Linked DNA regions of Homo sapiens: regions 2, 3, 4, 5 and 6 are each linked to region 1. Evidence: promoter capture Hi-C in human tissues and cell types (Jung and others, 2019). All regions are on one chromosome and are shown on one strand. The core of a region is centred on a gene start or on the middle of the fragment in contact, and the rest is flanking DNA. Distances in the headings are between cores, read along the strand shown.

Region 1 (2,700 bases), core at 106-2,605:
CACTTTAATGGCTCAGTCCTAGACGTTTGGGAGCTTCCCATAGGATTAGCGGGGGCGCCTTCCCCTAATTGACTTGGTGCCCCGCCCCCTCCACTGGAACCTGAATGTCCCCACCCCTGAATCATCCATCCGCCCAAAGCACCAACTATCTGCCTCAAACTCAAAGGGCATGGGGAGGTAGAATTCTGTAGGAGCTTCGGAACCTCTAGGCAAAGAGGTACTTGAAAGGGAAGAGGGGCTGGGGGACACCAGCTCCTACTGCGAGAAAGTGAAACTCCGGGTGCAGGGAAGATACCGCACCACACACATTCATCCGCTGGGGTGAAGCCGATGAAACAGAGTTTGGGATCAGATGAGGGATCATGGACCCCTGAGGTCGTTTGGTGGGGGCAGGAGGACAGGGTGCCCAGACATCGGTGTCCTATCCGTTAACTCCCACCCGCAGCGTCTCTGGGCCAAGGCGAGGAGGTCTGGAACCTTCTTCCTGGGTGGGAGTGGAGGGAGGCGCAAGACCCGGCCTTGCAGCCCACGGCTCCCTAGCACCGGCTGCAGGTACGCAGGCGCCGGAGGCCACCAGGAGCCCTCGGGTCCCACACCCCACCCGGCCCCCACCCGGCCCCCTCCCTCTGCGCCTGGGTTCTGGCTACTCACTGGCCGGCGGCGGGGAGAAGCGGGGGCTCTGCATCCACGGGGTCCTCTCGGGCTTCTCGGGGCTCTCGGCTTTGACGAGCGCATCTTCTGGCAGCTTGAGGAGTCCCCCCACCGAGAAATGGCCGAGCGGCCGCGGCGAAGAGGGCGCGTCCGGGGCTCCCAGCGACCCCGGCGGGACGCCCAGTGGCTGCGCCGAGCCACCCGCCGCCTGCACGCCCTCGGAGGGCGCCAGGGCGCTCTCCTTGGCCCCCGGCTTCCTGTGGTCGGCCATGAGCGCCTCCACGCTGAAGGGCAGGAGCGAAGGGGACACTTTGGGCTTGGCCCCCTCCTCGTCCGCGCCCATGGCGGCTGCCGTGGCCGCGGCGGCGCTGGGGGCCTGGCCCGCGCCTCCCCCCGCCGGCTTGCCGAAGGCGGAGTCCTCCACTTTGACACCGAGTGGCAAAGAAGTCATGTCAGCAGCCGGGGCCATGCAGAGCCGGGCCCCCCCTTCTGCCGCAGCACTGGCCAGCCGCCGGGCATGGGCTCCGGGCGGGCTGGGAGCGCGGCCGGCCTCTGCGAGCGCCCGGGGCCCTGGCCGGGCGGACCCTCCCGCGCGCGCCTCCCGCCCCTCCCCAGCAGGCCAGCTCCGGCGTGCTGGGCCTGGCCTCCGGTCGCTGCCGCCGCGCAGGCAGAGTTCCCGGGAGCACTCGCCGGCTCCGGGCCCTACCGCGGCTCCCCAGAGAACTTGCTAATAAGGCGAGGCCAGCGGGGCGGCGGCCAATCAGCGCGCGAGGGGGCGGGCCCGGAGCGATCCATTGGGCCGCGCTCCTGGGGACTCGCCCGGAGGCGCGCTGGGCCTGGGGGCACGCAGGGCAGGGCCCAGGCGGCGGAGGGCAGGGGAGGAGAGGGGGTGCCCGGGAAACTTTCCTCTGCGCTGAAGCCCAAGAGGCCCTCTCTGCGGGAGTCCCCTGGGTCTCTATCTTTCTGTGTTCCCGGGGGATTTTCCCTTGTTCTCGTTCCTTCTCTTCTGCCCTCCTCTCCTCCCCTCCCCTCCCCTCCTCAGCCCTCTTTTCCGCTCCTCTTTTTTTCCCCGTCCTTGTTTCTCTCCTCTACTGCTTCTTTTACCTTTCTCTTTAGTCTGTGGCTGGGTTTCCCTGTGCCCCCCTCCACTGTCTGACCCCCCCTCTTCTTCTACCACAATAATTTGAGTTGAGGTTATTTCTTACACATTCCTTTTATATATAGTTTTTAAAATACGCATGGCTATTTATCCTAGGAGAAAGACATACTATTAACTTCTTTTCAAGAAACGAAACAAAACCAAACCTTCATTTTCTTCCTGTTCTGAAATCTTGTAAACTTTACCTCGAGGTAAAAGTGGGCCTTTGTCTCTAACTTAGAGCTGGAGTAAACCTTGCGGGAAGAAGCTAGCTTCCTGTAGTGCCAAGGATGTGAGAATACGTAAGATTATCTAGAATCTGCAGTCGGTTTTCATACACGATGTGTATTCCCCCCCCCCCACCCTCGCTCTGAACTTCTGTCCCAAGGGTCACAACACCTATAGCGCCCGGGCGGGGAAAGGAGCTGCCAGATCCTTTTGATATAGAACTTACTGAAATAAAACCAACAGAATCGTCAATGAAACACCGATCTGGCCTTAAGGTGACCTCAAACAACGCGTCCTCGGAAACAATGACATGTCCCTATCTCTGGGCCGCTGATCCTGGAGGGGAGAGGCACATTTGGGGGAGGGGGCTGGGAAAAGAGGAAAGTTCCTGGAGGTGGACTCTAGTGTGGGACTTGAGAACTCTTCTTTTGCCAATTTCGGAGAAAACGTGATTTAATGTTTGCTGTTAATAATAATAATAATAATAAAGACAGAAAAAATGAGTTGGGGTCAGGGGAGATGCAAGATCTGCCTGAAGCGGGGTCGGGGCTTGGCCATTTTCTGCGCCTGTCGCTTTATGGCCTCTCCTCCTGCGGCCCAGGCCAGCGGCTCTCAGGGAGTGAGCGGAGGTGATTGGCGGCTCACTCGGCCCTGCCATTGATGACTGCGGGGTTCTAATCTCC
Region 2 (2,737 bases), core at 196-2,695, 280 kb after region 1:
GAGCGCCAACCCTATCGTGAGCTGCACATTCCAGGGATCTAGGTTGCAGGCTCTTTATGAGAATCTAACAATGCCTGATGACCTGAGCTGGAACAGTTTCATCCCAAAACCATTCCCCTGCCCCCGATCCATGAAAAAAATTGTCTTCCATTAAACTGGTCCCTGGTGCGGAAAAGATTGGGGACCGCTGCTCTACGGGAACAGGTACAGGAATAATACAGAATGCATAACGAATAAGTTAGCAGGGTGGGGAAAATGGAATAATTTTCAAAATTTTTTTAGCAATCCAAAAATTATCAGATATCTAAAATAGTAAAACCCAATTACATTGTGATTATATGAAACATTTACCTTAAAGATAAGGAGTCTGAAAAACTGAAATTAAAAGGACAGGAAAAGCTGATACATAACTACATTAACATATACTTAATAACAACACTACATAATTATAACACATACATATGTAGTTATATAACATATAAAGACAATACATTCTGTAAGGCAAGATTTGTTACTAGAGATATTTTATAATATCAAAAAGTCATTTAATAAGATAATAATTTAAAATTTGCATGCAGCAAAAAACATAGCCTCAAAGAAAGTGGGACAAAAGGAGAAACAGTCAAATCCATTATCCTAGTGGAGATTTTAAAATACATCTCTCAGTTATTGAAAGAAAAAGCAGAGAGAAATTCAGTAAAGATATAAAAGATTTTAACATGATTAATGAACTGGAGCCAATAAAAATAAATAGAGCTGGCCGAGCACGGTGGCTCACACCTATAATCCCAGCTCTTTGGGAGGCTGAGGCAGGTGGATCACCTGAGGTCAGGAGTTTGAGACGAGCCTGGCCAACATGGTGAAACACTGTCTCTACTAATAATATAAAAATTAGCCAGGTATGGCGGCACGTGCCTGTAATCCCAGCTACTGGGGAGGCTAAGGCAGGAGAATCACTTGAACCCAGGAGACAGAGGTTGCAGTGAGCCGAGATCATGTCGTTGCACTCTAGTCTGGGCAACAGAATGAGACCCTGTCTCAAAAAAAAAAAAAAAAAAAAAAAGGCAATGCAACCAACAGCTGCAGTTTACATATTCCCTTTTTTTTTTTTTTTTTGAGACAGGGTCTCACTCTGTTGCCCAGGCTAGAGTGCAGTGGCACAACCGTGGCTCACAGCAGCCTCAATCTCTGAGGCTCAAGCTATCCCCGCAACCTCAGGACCATAGATGTGCATCACCATGCCCAGCTATTTTTTTTTAAATTTTTTGTAGAAATGGAGTCTCACTATGTTGCTCAAACTGGTCTCAAACTCCTGGGCTCAAGTGATCCTCCTGCCTGGGCCTCTCAAAGTGCTGGGATTACAGGCGAGAGCCACCATGCCCAGCCAATCTCAATGAGTTTGAAAGGTTTATCATCATACAGTTATACTCTCTGATCATAGTGAAATTAAGCTAGAAATCAATAATAACATAACTAGGAAAACTCTAAATATTTATATTTATGTGTGTATAGCAGCATAAATCATGATAGCCAAAACCGGAAGCAAACCACATGCCATTCAACTGGAGAAGAAATAAACAAGCTGTGGCATATCCATACAATGGAATACAGGGCAGCAAGAAGAAAGAGCACATGACTACTATACACGGCTACAGGGAGGAGTCTTGCACGCACATTGTTGAATGAAGGAAGCCAGATATAAAAGACAGCTTACTCTATGGTTTCATTTATATAAAATCCAAAAATGAGCAAAACTAATATACAGCAACTGCAGTACAAATAGCGGTTCCCTTTCTTAGGGGATAATGACAGGAGGCACATAGGAGGGGGACTTCAGGGCATCTATCAGGCTTCATATCTTGATCTGAGTGGTGGTTCCAAGGGGATATTCATCATTTTGTAAAAGTTCTTAGTGCTGGGCACTTGAGTTATGCAAATTGCTGGATACAAGTTCTACTTTCAGAAGAAGTTTGCCCCTCGCCAAAACAAGAAACTTCATTCATAGGCTGGTTAAATAGCCAGATCTGGAGTCAGGCAGCCTGAGCTCAAATCCTGGCTCAACTGTTTACACTCTGTGTGTCCTTAGACTATGTAGCTTCTCTACGCCTCAGTTTCCTCATCTGCAAAATGGGGATATCACCAGTACTTAAGCCTAAGGTTGTTTTGTGGACTTATGAGTTGATCCATGCAAAGTACTTACCATAGTATCAAATATATAGTAAGATCTCAACTTACATTGCTCTTTTTAAAAAAGATCTTTGCAACCAACCTAGAGGGCCACACAACGTTGGGAGTAAAAGCAAGGACTTTATACCCTTGGACATTTTTCCCAGAAAAGTAAAAACTTTTGTTTGCACAAACACCTGTACGTGAATGTTCACAGCAGCATTTCTCATAATGGCCAGAAACTGGACACAGATATTCTTCAGTGGGTAAATGGTTAAAGAAACTGTGGTACTTCTATGCCATGGAACACCACTCAGTTAAAATTAAAAAAAAAAACAAAACACTACTGATGCATGCCATAACTCAGTGACTCTCAAGAGAATTAGACTGAGTCAAAAAGCCAATCCCAGAAGCATATACTTCCACTTACAGAACATTCTCGAAATAATGAAATTATAGAGATAGAGAACAGGTTTAGTGTTACAAGAATGAGGGATGCTGGGTGACATGGAGAAGTAGATGTGATTATTAAAGGCTGCAGAAGCCTGTGCTGACAGAGCTGTTGTGTATC
Region 3 (2,700 bases), core at 151-2,650, 320 kb after region 1:
CACACTTAAAAATTATTAAGGGCTCTAAACAATTTTGGTTTATATTGACATTATCGACATTTACTATATGAGAAATCAAAACAAAAACTTGATGTTTTTGAAAGTCTTTTTTTGGAGTCTGGCTTAATAGAAAACAGCTGTTCTGCATTTACTCCGTTGCAATATCACAGTCTCCAGCAAACTCAACTGTATGCAACTCATAAGAAAATCAGAGCGAAAAGGCAAATAACATCTTAGTATTGTGAAAATTTTATCTTGATGACCATTAAAACTGCTGTTTTAATACATATTCTACTTGTGCTTCCTCTTTATGAAAAAAGAAATCTTGAAGAAATCAATGAGATTTTGAATTAAAACTGAACCATAGGCCAGGCACGGTTGCACGTGCCTATAGTCCCAGCTACTCAGGAGGCTGAGTCCGGGAGGATCGTTTGAGCCCTGGCGTTCCAGCTGTAGTGAGCTAGGATGGCGCCTCTGACTAGCCACTGCAATCCAGCCTGGGCAACATAGTAGACCCCCGTCTCAAAAAACAACACAAAACAGAACATGAACCTAAAATGCAGAAGAAACTCATTGATTGAGTTGTCAATTTTAATAGCTATGGCTCAAGACGGTACAATTAAAAACTATGCATGAAGGATGAAGAGAATCCAGCGGCATTAGGGCCACTCTTTCACCTTTGTCTCCATCTAAACTTCCTATTCATCCTTCAAATCTCTGCACAGGTGACGCCTTTTCTCTAAAGCCTCTTCCTTTACCACAAATAACAGTGATTATAATAATAACATTATTAACGATTACTACCATTTATTGGCCACTTACTAGGAGCCAAGCAACATCAAAACACAGCACGCGTCAGCTCACTTAATTTTCACAGTAAACCCCGAGGAGGATGCTGGCTTCACTTTAAAAAGAGGTGACTGAAGGTTGGAGAAGAAAGGCCTCTGGCCTCTAGCTCTGTGCCTTGCACACCTGATCTGTCTCAGCATTTATTGCATCCCGAGGGTCACCGTCCACGTGCCTCTATCCTGCTCAAGGTGAGTTCTTGCAGTCAAAGGTCAAGGGTGGCTCGTCTCCACTTCCCCCGCAACCAAACCGCCCGGTCTCAGTGAGGGAGCCGCCAGAAGGGAAGGAGCCTCCTAGCTTCCCGGTCCTCACGCTCCCGGAGCCCACACGCCCCAAACAGACACAGAAGAGCTCGCTGAGCTCTCCGCGCAGCTAAACCCTCCAAGCTTTGCTGGGAGAAACCGATGCCCGAGAGCGCGTCGCGAGGTTCCTCCTCCGCCAGGTGCGCCGGCTGAGGCCGGAACCTTTTTCCTCCCGCCGCGGTAGCAGGGCGCAGGCCGGAACCTTTCTTCTCGCGTCGCCGTTGCCGGGGGGAGGCGTGTGGGGCAGGACCAGTCCTTCAGCGGCCGGGTTCGCGCCGCGGTCGCCGGCTGCTTACGTGGGCGGGCCTAGTGTGGGGCTGAGGGTGCGGGTCGCTATGGCGGTGGACATCACGCTGCTATTCCGGGCCAGCGTCAAGACCGTGAAGACGCGGAACAAGGCGCTGGGAGTGGCGGTGGGCGGCGGGGTCGATGGCAGCCGGGACGAGCTGTTCCGCCGGAGCCCCCGGCCCAAGGGCGACTTCTCCAGCCGGGCCCGCGAAGTGGTGAGCTGGTTGCTATGGAAACGGCGGGTTGAGGAGGGGGCAGTCCTGCGACAGGGACCCCGGGCCCCAAACCAGACCCCGTCCCGTAAGCATTGTGTGAAGGGGGTGGCTCTAAGGGGGACAGAAGAGTTGGCCTCAGAGACCCTACAGCTTTTTGGGGGAAGGAACAGCCTTATTTTGAGGAAGGGGGACGCATATTGGGGAACAGATTTCTCCTGCGGCGACAGGGATTGGGGGACAAGAAAGGAGATCCTCAGAAATCTCTATCTGGAAAGTGCATGGGCGGCTTTGTGAGGTCATGAGTTCGCCGTCACTACAGACTTGCACTCAGGGGAAACCTCCTGACAGTCCTTCGCTTCCTGTTGCAGCACTGACCACACCATATTTGCCTGTTCTATTTACTTGTCTGCCTCCCACCCCTAGTTGAGATTAAAAACTGTATTCAGCCGAACTCTTTCTTCCCTTTGTCTCTGCAATAAGTAGGACTCAGTTCCTCTTGAGACGGGTTTAGGGTAATCTTTCGCAAACACAGTGTTACAGTCACCTCAACTACTTTCTGTTCCCTGATCAGAGCAGGTGTCCCTTCATCTCCCTGGGAACAGGAACCTTTTCCTTAAGGGCAGGGACAGTGTTGTTTTCATCTCAGAATGCATGACTCATAGCATTGCTTAGTAAATGTTTGTTGAATGAGTGAATGAACAAATGGCTGTCTTTCCCATTAAACAGAAAACTCCATAAGGGGAGAGCTGTTTGTCTTGTTCCCTTTTGTGTTCGTGACACCAAGGAGGTATCTAGGTTTTGTGGGGCCTACAGCTTATATAGTTCTGTCTGCCCTCTTCAAGAAATAAAAATCACCAAGAAAGATTCAGAGCTTTGGAAGATTGAAGAGAGGGACCCTAAAGCTTAAGCCTCATTAATTTCACAGTAAATCCTTCTCTGCTTGGCATACACTTGGCACTGTATAGACACTCAGATATTTTTGAATGAATGTAGTCATGCATGCATTAATGACAGTTAGCAGAGGATACTTAAACATTAGAAAGGGGATT
Region 4 (2,700 bases), core at 78-2,577, 450 kb after region 1:
CTTGAACCCAGGAGGCAGAGGCTGCAGTGAGCTGAGATAGTGCCACTGAACTCCAGCCTGGGTGACAGAGCGAGACTCTACCTCAAAATAAATCAATCAATAAAAAGCTAAAACAGCGTGCAGATGGCCCTCCGCCTGCCCAGAGAGGCAGAGAGAGCGATGGGGCTCCCTGGCCGGGTGGGAGGATGCCAGGTGCCAGCACGTGGCAGGGCCTCCGTAATCGTATGAACATGCACAGAGCTGCTCGCTCCCCACCGCCCCTCCCAGCAGCCTGGAGGATGCGAGGGGCTGGGACTCTCCCCTGGCCACATACAGACCCTACAGCCAACAAGGTTAAAGAACTGGGGAGCTCTGCTGCTTCCTAAGGCTGCAGTCCCGAAGCTCAACTGGGTAGACCCTCCAGCAGAGTGCCCTCCTGAGCCCTGCCCGCTTCAGGAACTCTAGGCTTGGAGTCCCCTAACACCATGCAGTCCCCAGTTCCCATCTGTGATAGGAGACCAAGGGCGTCCCAGGCACTGGTCCTGGGGAAGCAGGAGATGTACGTGAGAAAGTGTCCTATCAGCCGTGCAGCATGGTCACCTGGGAGACGGGCGGCCACCCTGCCGTGAATGCTGAGGCTAACCCTCCTTCTCTTTGGGGGCCCCTATGCACCCCCTGCAAGCCGCTCAGGCCCCAGCACCAGGGCCCAGGGTGCAGATTCTGCCTGCAGCTCTGCACCTTCGCAGCTTACCAGCCTCACCACCTTGGAAGCCCCTTAACCTCTCTGAGCCACAGACTCCTTCCCTATGACATGGGACGACACCTCCACCACGTCCCCGTCTCTGCAAGGCTGCAGATGCCTGGAGAGCCACACTAGTCACTGCAGCTCATCCCCTGCCTCCACTTCCCGGAGGTCTTCATCTCCAGGCCTCACAATTGTCCCCGAGCCTGCATCCTGACTGCAGGGAGCCCTGGCCACAGGACCAGCTGAATGGGGTGGCTCAGAGCTGAGGGACGTGGCCTCTCTGCAGTCAGATTCCTGTCCATTGTGCTGCCAGATTCATTGGTCCCAGGGGCTCTCAGCACAGTGCCCGGGGCAGGACAAGGGCAGCACCAAGACCCTGAGACCCCAGCCCAGGCTGCTCTCGCACTCCGCCTGGCTACCTGCTACATCCCACCGCCCGCCCTCCCATCTCCCCAGCTCAGACCCACTACAACTCCAATGAGACCTGTCCCCTCTGTGTCCCTTCACCTAGGGAGGGACCCCTCAGGCCCCTGGCAGGCAGATTCACATCCCCTCTGAGCAGGCCCATCCTCCTGGTCCCCAGGTCCTGCCAGTTCCTCAGTCACGTCTCCCGCCTCCACTCCCCCAACCCCGACCGTAGGTTGCCTTCTCAGGGCCATCACCCTCTCTAAGGGCCAGAGAAACTCCAGTCCACTGGGATGGCCTACAGTGCATATGGAGCCTGTGCCTGACAAGGGACACAGACAGGATGGAGCCAGGCTGCTCCCCAGGGCCGCAGTGCCCACAGGGAAAGGCGCCGTTTAGTCCAGATCACAGCTGCAGTGCACAGGCCAGCGCACAGCACCTGGGCCAGGGCAGCAGAGCGCAGAGCTGTGATGAAGCAGGCAGAGCTGGCCGGAGAAAGAAGGCGCAGCCGTCTGAGGCACGTGGCAGCCAGAGGCAGTGGCAGGAGCCCAGCCAGGGAGGGCTGCCTGGCGATGATAGCCGCAAGCCCTGATGGTGCCTGGGGTTGGGACAGGCTCTGGACAGGGGCCGGAGCACAGACCCTGCGGCTCTAGCTCACTGGCCGGGAGTCTGGCACCTGGCTCCAGCCTGTGAATAGCAGTGAAAGGAACGCCTTCCAGGGACAGTCACGGGACACTGAGAACAGCACCTGGGTTGGGGGGGAGCATGACGGAGCTGTCTGCTGTCGCTGCTGTTATCCTCACTCTCATCTCCTCACTGGCCCTGGGGTGTGCGCCTGGCAGACAGCAGAGCGGGCTCTCAACCCTCTAACCAGCTGCCCCGTCGCATGTTCACCCGGGGCCAGCCTGCCCGGGCTCCAGCTACCTGCCTTTCTCCAAGTCTACACTGCAGGGCTGCCTCACTCAGGGTGGTCCAGAAGGACTTGGTTCCATTTAACTGGCCTCCTTCGTAACCCTTTGCATTTTATTCTGTGCATCTGAAAACACTATTCTGAGAAGAGAGCCAAGCCACCACAGGTGCAGATGTCCTGTTAGAAGAGGGTTTCAGGGGCAGACGTGGTGGCTCACGCCTGTAATCCCAACACTTTGGGAGGCAGAGGCGGGTGGATCATGAGGTCAGGAGTTCAAGACCAGCCTGGCCAGCATGGTGAGACCCCGTCTCTACTAAAAATATAAAAAATTAGCCGGGCGTGGTGGTGAGTGCCTGTAATCCCAGCTACTCAGGAGGCTGAGGCAGGAGAATCGCTTGAACCCAGGAGGTGGAGGTTGCAGTGAGCCAAGATCGCGCCACTGCACTCCAGCCTGGGCAACAGAGTGAGACTCCGTCTCAAAAAAAGAAGAGGGTTTCAAGTCCTTGAAGAGATGGGGCATCATTAAACCTGTTTCTCCAGTTGGGAAGCCACATCAGTTTGGCTCCTGGTACCCCACCTGTCTAGATTTAAAAAGAACCCCCATTCTCTCCTGCAGGGCTGTGGGGGAACCACCTCCTCGGGGGTGTCCTCCGAAACCTGG
Region 5 (2,700 bases), core at 154-2,653, 330 kb before region 1:
GGAAACTGAGGCTTTCAAGGGGTACACACCTAGGAAGAGGAAAGGCCATTTTCCACGTCTACTACATTGTTGAGTATAATAACCACGCTTCCTTCCTCTCCCTCAGAGTAGCATCCATCACTTACTCATCTTGTTATTTTTGAGGCTTAGCTTTGGGCCTAACTCACAGAAGTTGGCTTTAGAAAGAGCATAGGCTTTGGTGTTAGATCTGAGTCTGGCAGAGTTGTGCGGGAGCCGGCTTATACTAGCTCATCATAATCAAATGCTAAATCTTCAGAAATGTTGCAGGCTGGCTGACACCATATTGTTAGTTTGAAATCAACCATTATGAGAAACTATTTACACCATGGAAATTGGCAAACAGGGCTTGTCCCCCCCCTCCCCCGCCCGGCCCCTGCCACCCTGCCCCGACACACCCCATCCTGGAGAGCTGGTTGTTAAGCATTTACCAGCACACCATTGCTTTTAATCCCAGTACTGACTCTTGTTGGCTATATATTTTGCACAAATAACTTAATCCACTAGTCTTCAGCTTTTCCAGCTGTAAACGAGACAGTAACATCCACCTTGCACGATGGTTCTGAGGATTAATCCAGATAAAATATGCAAAGAGCCATGTGCTGTAGGTGATGGACAAATGGTACTGGTACTACTATTACTGAATAGGTGTGGGATAAATTTACTAATTCCCCATGGACCAAGAGAGTCCTGGTTCAGAAGACCCTTGGGAAAGCATGAAGAGCAGTCAGGAAAACGGGCACAAGAAGGTGCTGTGTTGTGGTGCGGGAGAAGCGGAGTACCCCACACACAGCCCACAGGTCTGGAAGAATCCTGGCTCTTCCACGTGACCCTGGGTAAACCCCATGGCTTCTCTGACTACTGGACGGATTCCCTCACTCACCTGCAGGAACTGCCTGACACACCACAGCCAATCCCCCAAGCCCAGCTGTGTTTTCCCCAATTCCTGTTTTTGTACTGCGTGTCCTCTGGCTCCTCATGCAGCCCTCTGAACAGCTCAGCACAGGCCCCCTGAGTGTCGGAGTGCGGGCAGGTGCATCCTGTGACCCACACTCACAGCTGCCAATCCTGCCCCCTGAAGAATAACAAACTCATGTCACTTACAAAGAAAACATTACACACCTGGTATCTTTAAAGCATAAGATGAAGTTTCCATGGTGCTACAAATGCTGGAACAGTCAAGAATGAGAGAGGGACTCTAGATAGGAGAGCCTCGCCTCTTAACCCTCTATTTATGGGTGTTACCATGGGGATGGGTATGTCGAGGAGGCGCTGGAGACTGATGAAGACATCGCTAATTGGAACTGGGAAAACCCCAGGGACATTCTCCATCTCTGTGTGTTGGGGATGGACCAGGATATCACTTAACCCTCCAGGGCATGGTGGGTGTTTGAAATCTCTATAGTTTTTAAGTTAACCCAGGACACCAAAGCACGATAACCATCCCAGATGGAGGGAAGAGAGCAAGCGAGATAAGCGACTGCTGGTTAGCATCTGTCTTCTCTCACCTGTAAGACAGGGAGGAACTGTCTTCCTCACAGTTCTGCCACCAGGGTCTAGCACAGCATTTGGCATGTCAGGGGCCCTTAACAGCACTACATAAATTAATCTACTGAACGTCAGATGCTAGGGAGACAGAGATGAATAAGGTATGGTCCCCTTCCTCAAGCGGCCCACTGCTCACGGAGGAAACACACACCCCAGCAGATAACCGTGACAGAGCTGCCTTTATGCCATAACAGGATCTGCGAGAAAGCACCACTGTCTGGGGCTGGTGTCCCGAGGAGGGCTGATGGAGGAGGTGAGGCCTGGACTATGAACTCCAAGAGGACAGGAGCCATACTGACTGTCTTCACCACTGCACCCTTAGAAATTGGAACAGTGCCTGGTACCCAATAAGAGCCCAGTGAATAGCGACTTAATGAATGAATTCCTGTGGAGGATGAGCAGGAGTTCTCGCAGTGACCGAAGAACAGACGGTGTTCCAGGCAGAGGGCACAGCCTGAGCAGAGGCCTGGAGAGATGAGAACAGTAGGATGTATGACAGATCACCCACAAACCAGTTAGTATGGACGAGAACAAAAATGGCCCAAGATGGTAGTAGGGGTGGGTGTCAGGGGATGAGACTGTACATAGTGTTACAGGCTAGATCACAGAAAGACGTTCATTCTGAGGGCTTCGGGAGCCATTGTGGTATTTTATGCAGAGGCGTGGTAGGCACAGACTTACGCTTTGATAAGACCTGTCCTGTGAAGGGCACGTGGGTGATGGGTAACTGGCTGGGCATTGAAACAGTAGTTAGGAGCCTATAGCAACAGTTCAGGCTAGGGACAATTGCTTCTGTGGAAATGACACTGCTCAGCATCTAGCAATTGTTTATAAGGCTGAGAAGCTTTGTCAAAGGTTTCCCTGATGCCTTCCAGTCTCTGTCCTCCCCCACGTCCCTTTCCCTGCCCTCCACTACTTCAGCCAGATCGGCTCTGCCTTCAAATACTTAATATAGTTTTATTTTAATCAAAGCTCTCAACACTTAAAATGTAGCCTCTGATTTAAGTGATTGTTTCTTGGCTTAGACTGGCAGGTAGATATCCGTGTACTGACTCAGTCCATTGCAACTCAAAAATGATTCTAGAAACCTACATTGCCCTGAGAGCCATTTAAACTAACTTCTGACATCTGTTC
Region 6 (2,700 bases), core at 1-2,500, 400 kb after region 1:
AAGTCTCAGCTTAAATGTCACCTGATCAGGGAGGCCTTTTCTTCTCTTCCCATCCCACTCAGACTATATTATGTTCTCATTTGCTGCTGCCCTTTCCTTTGCTGTCTTTTTTTAGCCATACCATGTCTGAATATGGGAGGATGACAGACACAGAACGAGACCAGATAGACCAGGATGCCCAGATATTCATGAGGACCTGTTCAGAAGCAATTCAGCAACTACGAACAGAAGGTAAAGTGCTCTGAAAGATGCAAACAAGCAACCATGAATATAGCAAGTAGTTAAACAAGATGCATATGGTGCGGCCAGTTAAAATTCCCTCTTCTTATTTCGATTTAGGTTTTAAAACGTTAAAATCTTTTCTTTCTTGATCAATGTTTTAACCAAAGCTGTTAAAAGTACTGCAAAGGCTGTATCATTCAAGTTAAACCAATGAGAGGAGGGAGATGGAAAGGACCTCTCCAAACAGAACCAAAAATATATCTAGGGGCCAGGGGCAGTGAAGACAAATTTGTGTGTGTGTGTGTGTGTGTGTGTGTGCGTGTGTGTGTGTTCTGTGTGGCAAATTGTATGTGTGTGGGTGTGTATGTGTGTATGCACATGTGTGCCTCTGTTCTGTGTGGCATTTAGTGGGATGGGAGTTGACAGCAGCCTGGGGTACTTAAGCTCTACTTGTAATATTCAAGTAAACTTTCCTATCAAACCTTCAAGGTTAGGAGGAAGGCTCTGGAGCCAGGGCTGCTTAGGTTGCACCCCAACTCCACCCGTCCGAGCCATATAGCCCTCTGCAAATCACTTAATCTCCCTGGGCCTTGTTTTTTTGTCTATGAAATGCAGACAATTAGGGAATGTATCTCTAGGGTTGTTATGAGCATTAAGTTAAATTCCTACAGCATGCTTAGAACTGTGTCTGGCACAAGAGCGCTTATTATCTCACTTTCGTTGATGTTTAATTCTCACTGAGACAATGAGATGGCTTCCCAAGTCACGCCTCTTTCTTGATTCTTTTTTAATTTGCTTAGGCATTTACAGAGTACATTAAATAGTAAGTAGAGTTCAAAGCTGCCAGATGCTGTTGTGCTCACAACACAGACTTTTGTTGGGGAGGTTTTTATTAGAATGCTGACGGACCACTTGGAGACTCTGATGGAAGCAATAGGCATTCTTGCCAGAAAAATGTACATACACAAAATTCTATATGCAATTTCACAGAGCTCCTGAGTCCCCCACACAAATCTTGGGTTAAGCAGCCCTATAGTAAGGCAGAAATCATGCCCTCTACCCTTAAGGGCATATACATTCATTGAGAGACCTAAAAAATGCACAGGAATATTTAACAAAACCTACATTTACATATGAAACCATCTAACCTTGGGCTATTTATTGCCTCTGAACCTTAGTTTCTTCACGTGTAAAAATCAGGAAACTCGGAATTGCTATTGTAATTACTAGCAGTACATATGTAAAGTGCTAGCAGAGTACCTGCACGCAGTAGGCACTCAGTCTCTCAGTCAGTGGTCACTATCTTACCAAAACCAGTGGCACAGACTTTAGGTCTGGTAAGGCCTTTTAGCACACTTCTGTGTGGTAGTTCCCAGGAGAAAGGCATCTTTGTGGCTAGGAGTCATAGGTTTCCTGGAGACAGAAAGTTTGACTCATTGTCTAAGGGACCCTTAGAATGTGAGTGGCCAAGGGGAGAGGATGGGGCACTACAGGCTGAAAAGCAGCACAGGTTCAAGCAGGGAGGAGTGTGTGATTTCAGTTGTTTAAACATGTTCGCTGAAGGTCAGCTTGAGCATTGGATGCTGTTAACACAGATGGGGTCAGCACTCAAGAAGTGGCTGCGTCAAATACTATCCTTAAGTGTTCTGATAAACCATAAATTATTTGACTATAGATTTTCTACAGGTTTAATCTTTCACTCTTGCGAAGCCTGATACATCTTACTGTTTTAAAAATGTAGTGTCACTTGGCACAAGACTTGTTTTATAGCTGTGTTTTAAAAAATACTCTCAATAAAGAAAGTGTTGTGAGGAAGCTGATGAATTGCTCTTTAGGATAATTGAGTGCGAAGGCCTGAACATTGTCTTTTTCTGTTACAGCTCACAAGGAGATACATTCCCAGCAAGTGAAGGAGCACAGGACCGCTGTTTTGGATTTCATTGAAGATTACTTGAAAAGTATTTCATTTTCTTTTAAAGGTCAAATGTAACATTTCACAATAGATGTGATGCAGAATTTAGCTTTGCTAGCTGAAGACTGTAGTATCTCATTATATTTAATGATGGCTTTGCCTGAGAAGCTGTTTTAAGCAGTCTCTCTTCTGGTATTTTCTTCTGCAACAGGAGTATGTAAACTTTACTCAGAACAGAGAGCCATCCGAGTTAAAAGAGTGGTGGATAAGAAAAGATTGTAAGTATTGCTTTCATTGGTGTTTCTTAATTAATAATAGTACTACTAATAATAGCAGTTAAAGTTTGTAGAGCACTTACCCTATGCAATGTACCGTGTTTGAACTTCTTCGCAAAATGCCATAGCTGGCGCTACCGGGCACTCACTGTGTGCCAGGCAGCATGCCAGCCACTTTATTGGCCCACAACAAACCCCCATGAGGCAGGTACTGTTTCCTCCCTCATTTTACAAATGAGGAAGTTGAGGCTCAGGAGGCTTGGCCACTCACCCTAGATCCCACAGTCCCAC

What was found. Contacts are between HindIII fragments. The study calls those that stand out against the background at their distance.
Region 2: a contact is called between a fragment that was not itself captured here and the fragment with the promoter of MSX1 in region 1, in 2 of the 25 tissues and cell types used here (dorsolateral prefrontal cortex and mesendoderm cells).
Region 3: the fragment with the promoter of STX18 here is called in contact with the fragment with the promoter of MSX1 in region 1 in 1 of the 25 tissues and cell types used here (mesendoderm cells).
Region 4: a fragment that was not itself captured here is called in contact with the fragment with the promoter of MSX1 in region 1 in 2 of the 25 tissues and cell types used here (lymphoblastoid cells and spleen).
Region 5: a fragment that was not itself captured here is called in contact with the fragment with the promoter of MSX1 in region 1 in 2 of the 25 tissues and cell types used here (dorsolateral prefrontal cortex and spleen).
Region 6: a contact is called between a fragment that was not itself captured here and the fragment with the promoter of MSX1 in region 1, in 1 of the 25 tissues and cell types used here (mesendoderm cells).

Annotation. Positions count from the first base shown.
Region 1 is chr4:4,858,320-4,861,019 of GRCh38, reverse strand. It overlaps MSX1 (msh homeobox 1), which reads right to left and starts at 1,355. Exons shown (of 2, transcript NM_002448.3): 1 at 652-1,355. The coding sequence starts at 1,120. RefSeq lists silencers at 764-1,203, 1,214-1,453, 1,474-1,533. The HindIII fragment of the contact is 22,824 bases long and covers 1-2,700 here.
Region 2 is chr4:4,580,043-4,582,779 of GRCh38, reverse strand. All of the region lies in intron 2 of LOC124900165, which reads right to left. The region is part of intron 2 of STX18-AS1 (STX18 antisense RNA 1 (head to head)); the gene reads right to left. Among named protein-coding and RNA genes, the nearest start is that of LINC03091, 5.5 kb to the right of the region's middle. RefSeq lists an enhancer at 1-433. The HindIII fragment of the contact is 7,283 bases long and covers 1-2,737 here.
Region 3 is chr4:4,540,748-4,543,447 of GRCh38, reverse strand. It overlaps STX18 (syntaxin 18), which reads left to right and starts at 1,400. Exons shown (of 11, transcript NM_016930.4): 1 at 1,400-1,651. The coding sequence starts at 1,484. It overlaps LOC124900165, which reads right to left and starts at 1,317. Exons shown (of 6, transcript XM_047416490.1): 1 at 973-1,317. It overlaps STX18-AS1 (STX18 antisense RNA 1 (head to head)), which reads right to left and starts at 1,317. Exons shown (of 6, transcript NR_037888.1): 1 at 973-1,317. RefSeq lists enhancers at 1,232-1,526, 1,251-1,530. The HindIII fragment of the contact is 5,470 bases long and covers 1-1,893 here.
Region 4 is chr4:4,405,863-4,408,562 of GRCh38, reverse strand. The region is part of intron 3 of NSG1 (neuronal vesicle trafficking associated 1); the gene reads right to left. Among named protein-coding and RNA genes, the nearest start is that of NSG1, 20 kb to the right of the region's middle. RefSeq lists a silencer at 2,479-2,609. The HindIII fragment of the contact is 6,386 bases long and covers 1-2,700 here.
Region 5 is chr4:5,185,304-5,188,003 of GRCh38, reverse strand. The region is part of intron 3 of STK32B (serine/threonine kinase 32B); the gene reads right to left. Among named protein-coding and RNA genes, the nearest start is that of STK32B, 140 kb to the right of the region's middle. The HindIII fragment of the contact is 5,864 bases long and covers 1-2,700 here.
Region 6 is chr4:4,456,903-4,459,602 of GRCh38, reverse strand. It overlaps STX18 (syntaxin 18), which reads left to right. Exons shown (of 11, transcript NM_016930.4): 3 at 116-231; 4 at 2,103-2,180; 5 at 2,346-2,412. Among named protein-coding and RNA genes, the nearest start is that of STX18-IT1, 23 kb to the left of the region's middle. The HindIII fragment of the contact is 8,382 bases long and covers 1-2,700 here.